2 separate regions of the Homo sapiens genome follow, and region 1 is linked to region 2. The links are contacts of gene promoters, found by promoter capture Hi-C in blood cells and fetal thymus (Javierre and others, 2016). All regions are on one chromosome and are shown on one strand. Each heading gives the region's core, a stretch centred on a gene start or on the middle of the fragment in contact. The rest is flanking DNA. Distances are from core to core; before and after follow the strand shown. Region 1 has its middle 66 kb from the start of LINC02702. Region 2 holds the start of PCSK7 (proprotein convertase subtilisin/kexin type 7).

Evidence for each region. The method cuts DNA at HindIII sites, captures the fragments that hold promoters and counts their contacts. A CHiCAGO score of 5 or more calls a contact.
Region 1: a contact is called between a fragment that was not itself captured here and the fragment with the promoter of PCSK7 in region 2, in 1 of 17 cell types (fetal thymus). The highest score is 5.9, in fetal thymus.

The regions. Positions count from the first base shown.
Region 1 is chr11:116,703,697-116,706,977 of GRCh38, forward strand. No RefSeq gene overlaps it. Among named protein-coding and RNA genes, the nearest start is that of LINC02702, 66 kb to the left of the region's middle. The HindIII fragment of the contact is 1,411 bases long and covers 977-2,387 here.
Region 2 is chr11:117,230,607-117,233,792 of GRCh38, forward strand. It overlaps PCSK7 (proprotein convertase subtilisin/kexin type 7), which reads right to left and starts at 1,467. Exons shown (of 17, transcript NM_004716.4): 1 at 1,421-1,467. It overlaps RNF214 (ring finger protein 214), which reads left to right and starts at 2,065. Exons shown (of 15, transcript NM_207343.4): 1 at 2,065-2,120. RefSeq lists enhancers at 156-395, 1,265-1,314 and silencers at 1,505-1,654, 1,865-2,204. The HindIII fragment of the contact is 17,537 bases long and covers 1-3,186 here.

The DNA.
Region 1 (3,281 bases), core at 432-2,931, 530 kb before region 2:
GTGGCAACCGAGCCAGAAGGAGCCACAGGAGCTGGGTATGCAAAGTTCACGGGGACCTGTCTGAAGAGCCCAACCGCTCTTCCCCAACCCTCTGCCACCCATCCACCCAAACAGAGGCACTCGCTGAGCAGAGCACATCCAGGCTCCACTGTGAACACAACTCAGACCCGCATTCACACCAAATACATCCCAGCTTCACATCTGTGGACCCATTTTCACCAAGGAGACACATGAAAGTGGCACAGCCATAACACAAAGGAGGGGAATGATTCACACAAAAGTTAGGAGAGTGGTTAACTCAGGGGCAATGAAGGAAGGGTCATAGTTGGGGGTTGGGGTGGCACAGGGAGCTTCCAAGGCACTAACAACATTCGATGACAAAAATACAGACCCCTGGGGCTGGGTGCGGTGGCTCATGCCTGTAATCCCAGCAATTTGGGAGGCAGAGGTGGGGGCATCACTTGAGGTCAGGAGTTCCAGACCAGCCTGGCCAACATAGTGAAACCCCGTCTCTACTAAAATTACAAAAATTATCTGGGCGTGATGGCTTGAGCCTGTACTCCCAGCTACTCGAGAGGCTGAGGCAGTAGAATTGCTTGAACCTGAGAGGTGGAGGTTGCAGTGAGCCGAGATCGCGCCATGGCACTCCAGCCTGGGCAACAGAGCCAGACTCTGTCTCAAAAAAAAAAAAAAAAAAAAAAGACTCCTGCATATAAATGCTTATTCACACATAGTATATAAGATTGACACCCAGAAAGATCCACATTCACCCCAATCACCTTATCTATACGCACCCCCCTACTGTACAGACACTGCTCAGGTGGGGCATGTACTCCATTCACCGCATGCATGCACAGACCCATATCTCCCTGACACACCTATGCCCACCTGTGTACTCACAGGGACACCCCCAGACACATACCCAAAATGCAGATCACAACCTCCAAATGTTACAACTCAGAAGCTGAGGAGCCCAAGCTTTCTGAAACGACTCAAAAACAAGATTGTGCTTCCATTCAGTGCTGGAACCAAATCACTAAACCCTAACAAAGACCCCCCAGGCTTGTTGCCTCGTAAACCAGGCCCATCATGGAGGGAGGCCTTTCTTCTTCTCTGTTTATTTACTCAGAGCAGTTTTTTCTATCCTCCATAAATGCCAAAAGGACAAAAATGTGTCACTCAGACTTGAAATAAAAACGCTTATGATAGCCTTACAGAGACACACACTCCTCTTTAAGACGCCCATGTGTGGTGCCCACCATGAGCATGCCCCACGAGGTGCGCCACCCACCACCCCACAAGACAAGGACAAGATGCCTTCTGGGTACTGCTCTAGGAAGGCAGGAAATGTTGTAAGAAGCACGGAGTATCTTGCTAGGCCGGGGGTCAGCTCCTGACCTGGCCGGGACACCTCACAGCCATAGACTCCATCCACATAGGCCCTTGAGAACAGGAGGTCACAGAGACACTTGTGGAGGACATTTGGTTGAGAATCTCTTGAAGCACATTTGAAGATTCGTGGCATTATTTTCAATATTGTCTTAATAATCACTTTTTTTTTTTTTTGAGACGGAGTCTCGCTCTTGTCACCCAGGCTGGAGTGCAGTGGCGCAATCTCGGCTCATTGCAACCTCCATCTCTCCAGCTCAAGTGATTCTCCTGCCTCAGCCTCCCGAGTAGCTGGGATTACAGGCACCCACCACCATGCCCAGCTCATTTTTGCATTTTTAGTAGAGAAGGGGTTTCACCACACTAGCCAGGCTGGTCTCGAACTCCTGACCTCAGGTGATCTGCCCACCTCCGCCTCCCAAAGTGCTGGGATTACAGGCATGAGCCACTGTGCCCAGCCGATCACTTCTTAATGTGCAGAAATTGAAAGGTGTATGTAGCATGTACACATGTCTGTATGCTTATTATAATAATGACCATATTTATTGGGCACAAAAGGTCAATACATGTTAGCTATTGTTATTATTGTAATTTTACATGGTTAATGAAAATAATGTAGAAGTAGGGGGTTGTTAAGATGAGCTTCCTTTATTTCCTAGGGTTTTGATTCAATAAACTCTTTTCAGTTTTAGCAGTAGCAATATTGCATTGTGCTGTATTTTACAAAACAATTTCACGTACACTATCTCCTTTCAATCCTGGAGCAGCTCCTGGGTGAGGGAATGATGCTGGGGGAGGGAGCAGGTCATAGATGAGTAAGACCCAGACCCAGGCCTTCGAGAGCTCACAAGCTAGTGAGGAAGGGTTCCAGGAGCAGCTTTGAAACCATACCACGAGGCCTCAGGTTGTCACAAAGGACCTGCCAAAGGCAGTGAAGCACAGGAAAGGGAGTCATTCGTTGCTCGGGAAGAATCAGGAAGGGCTGGATAATCAAAGAAAGCTTCACGGAAGAAGTCCCACTGGAGCCAGGCCTAGAAGCATAAGTAGATTGAGGCAAGCCAAGTTCTGGGCTGGAAAAGGGCACTGAGGTCCCAGGCACAGCTGCAGAACAGAAGTTGGTGGGCCTAGGTAGCCTGACTTGAGGGGCTGGGGCAGGAGCAGGGGGAAATAAAGCTGTGAAGGTAGACTGAGGCGGGATTCGGAAAGGCCTTGCACCAGAGGCCAAAGCATCTGGCCCCAGCAAATGACCAAGTGTTTGAAACAGCCAGTCTTGTGCTCCAGAGAAACACCTCACATACCCTAAGGTTAGTGGGGATTTAACCCGAGCATAAACCAGTAGGATTAAATCATGACATACACACAGAGAACACCTTTTTTTTTAAACTAGATTCTTTGATCCCATAGAACTACCCAACTCTTCTTGTCCCTACCATGACTTGTGGGTATCTGACCCTACTGTTCATGGAATTTTAGATTTTCCTGCTTGAAAGGGAAGGGACGGCCAGGCGCAGTGGCTCATGACTATAATCCCAGCACTTTGGGAGGCCGAGGCAGGTAGTTCACCTAAGGTCAGGAGTTCCAGACCAGCCTGGCCAACATAGTGAAACCCCATCTCTACTAATAATACAAAAAATTAGTCAGGCATGGTGGCAGGCACCCGAAATCCCAGCTACTTGGGAGGCTGAGGCAGGGGAATCGCTTGAACCCGGGAGGCGGAGGTTGCAGTGAGCCGAGATTGCGCCACTGCACTCCAGCCTGGGCAACAAAAGCGAAACTCCGTCTCAAAAAAAAAAAGAAGAAAGAAAAGAAAAGAAAAGAAAAAAAGAAAGGGAAGGGACTTTCTCTGTCTAAATGTCACTCCTGGGTCAGGCTGCTGTGTCCTCTTTTCCCAA
Region 2 (3,186 bases), core at 217-2,716:
GGAGCAGAACTGGTACGGTGAGGCCAAATCAGTATAACACCCAAAAAACCCACTTCCTGTGCTATCGTGCCACCCTCTTTTCATTTTGTTCCCCAGAGGCCTAGCAAAAAACAGTTACCAAAATGCCTCTTGAAAGAGTAGGTAATAACGTCCTAGAAGTCCAGGTGGTAGCTAACTTCTTGATTTGTATATCCCAGAAGGATACCAGGGAAAGTGAAAGGAGGGAGGCGGCGGGGGCGAAACGGGGAAAGCCAGAGAGTGCAAACAAAACAGAACAGGCACCAAGGACAAGCGGGCAACCAGGAGAGAACGAATGATGAGAGAACCTCACTAAGCAGCTACTCCTGTACTGAGCTCAGGAGGCTGGCTTCAAGGTGAGGACTCAGACTCCAGACTGGGACTCCAATTGCCTGGGTTTGACAGAACCAGGGAATTGGTCTCAGGAGCCCTCAAAAAAAAAAAAAAAGAGCCAAGTTAGAACTGGGGGACAGACAAATGGGGTGGCAGGACATGTGTGTACCTATGGTGGCTGGGCTCCTTTAAAAGCCTTTGCTCTCCACTGGGTCCACCCTGGGGCAGGGCTTAGTACTCAGATACACACCCAAGCGGCTCTACCTCAAAGCATTCCAGAAAAATGGGAATTTTACTGAAAGGCTTCCTGGAAAGGAGAACTTATGCCACCTCTCCTTTACCTCTAAAAATCTTCATACTACATTTCTTCCTCTCGTTTTCTCTTAGGTTTCCAGGCATATTCCCTCTCAATCCCTCCCTGCCCCCGGGAGCCTCAATTCTCCCAAGATATTTAGGTGTCTTCCCCAGTCTGCATACTCTACTAAGTAAACAAACTAACAAACAAAACCCTTGTTAGCCAGACAGTGGCCCCGCTAGGCAGACTCCTTCAGACTCAGTAGATCCCACCACAGATGTCAGGAAGAAAGAGAAGCAGGAGCTCCTTCTGTCTACTAGTGGCAAAGCAGCATTTTTATCCCCCAGGCTTCTGGGAAAGGAACCTTAAATGCCTTCTGAAAGCAGGTCTCAACCTCTCCCAACGGCTAGGCCTCCCTTTACAGCTCTTAATTGACAAGGAAGAAGAGAATGGGCAGCCTGGAGTCCAAGATCCTGCTCCCAAGCTACTGTCCTCGCTGTTCCACACCCGGCTCCTAGAAGCCAGCTTGGGTACCGGGTCAGTTTCCCGATTCTCCCTCCGTCGGCCTCGATCGCTCCGTGCAATGTGCCCCTCTCCTCATTAGCACCCACATTATCCAGGAATTCTGGGCCCTGGGGCCCCATCTCCTTGGTCCCCCACGCCAGGACCTCAGGCACCCTCTGTGCAGCTCCCTCATCCTCAGACGCCGGCTTCCCCCACTTCTGGGGCCCCCTGACCACCCAGGTCCAGCCCCACACCTAGTTCCCAACTCACCGGCCCCGCCGCAGCTGCCGCCGCCTCCCTGCGGAAACTCGCGGCTTCCCGGGAGCCGGAGGAGCAGTGACAGCAGCATCACTTCCGCCCGCGGCGCAGCCAATCAGCGCGGCGCCTGCGGCCCGGCGACCCCCGCGGGCCACAGCAACCGGCGCCCGGGGTCCGGCTCCCGCGGGCGGCCTACGCAGGCAGGGGCCGTGCGGGCGCTGGGGGCTGAACCCGCGGGCTCCGCCTCCCCGAGTCCTCGGGGCATCTTCCACATGGTCCCTCTTCAGAAGGCTCTCCTTCATGGCGTCCTCTGTAAAGGGCATTTCGGTTCCGACCTTTAAAAGCCACTCGTTGCTCTTCTCCTTCTGACCGCCATGGCCCCGACTGTCCCTGTAATCTTCCCAGAGGGGATCCTGCCCACCCAGGTCGCCTTCCTTCTCGCAGTCGGCTCTCCCTTCTTCCCCGCGCCCCGGGAGAGTCCACTTGTATCTCAGGGGTCTCCCGCAGCATCCCCGTGCCCCGGCGGCGCCAGCTGTCGCCGCCAGAGGGCGCCGTCGGGGGCGGCGCGGCGCCACCGCGGCCTCTCCTCTCGCGGCCGGAGCCTCGCCCCCTCCGCTCGTGCCGCCGGAAGTGGGAGGTGCCGCGCGCGGGCCGGCGCTCGACCCCTCCCCCCGTGGCTCGGCCGCCCCCTCCCCCCGCTCCGCCCGCTCAGGTGCGTCCCGTCCCTCCCCCACTTTCCTCCCGGGGGCGCGGCGCGGGAGGTGTGTGCGGGGCGAGCGTGGGTGGGGGTTGCGGGGCGAGGGCCGGGCATGGGGGTCGGGTGGGGGGCGTGGAGGGTGCTGTGAGAACCGAGGCGGGGGTCCCGGCCTAGAAGTGGGACGGGGGGGTGGCTGGCAGCGGGGTGGGGGGACCGAGGGGAAGGGGTGGAGGGGGGTCTGGTCCGAGCCAGCGGCCAGCCTAGCAGTCCCCTGTGGGGGGTGGCCAAGGCCACCCAGCGCCGCTTCCCCCCATTGTCCCCTTCCCGTCTGTCCCCTGTTCTCGCCCGAGGACCCGTGGCTCCGGCGCCCCTGCTTCGCTGGTGGTCGCCCCGGGTTGCGGAGTTCTTTTTGGTACACTCGACCCTCCAGCCAGCTGTTCCTACCCGCGCCACGGGCTCTCTAGCCACGGAGTTGCATGCATGGCCCTTGTCCTGGGGTTTCGTTCACCGGGCGCAGAGGACCCCCCAGCCCTGGGCTATGTTGGAGACGGGATGTTTGCACCTGAGGGAGCAGCAATGGCGGTTTGGGCCCATTTTCTCCCAGGAGCTTTGTATAATGAGGGAAACTGAGGCACAGAGGGTCTGTGGGCTGTGACTGAGGTGTTGACACAGCCCCATCTACCTATCTGCCCTATGCGCTCTTCAGTGTTCCGGGGGGGAATACGTGTGATGCTGTTAAAATAAAAGCAAGAATGCAAACTAACCCGATGTTCATCCCCACCTCCCAAGTATTTTGATTTTCTTTTCTCCTCATAAGGTCATAAGTTTGCTCTGCGGCATAAAAGATGACCTTTTGATTTTTAAAAAAGGCGTCCGTCCCAGTTCCCTTACTTGTGTTACCATGTTTTTTACCTTGACTTTTTCACGCTAGAGAACCCAGGATTCTTTTTTGCACCACTAGTCACTCTGAAGAGTCTGTTCTTTGCTCAGTTAGTGGGTATCAGGCCTTTCCCATCTGTGGGGAGCACGCTGACAGTAAAATATGCACCCTGGATTGCCCAGTATTGCATTACTTGTTGAC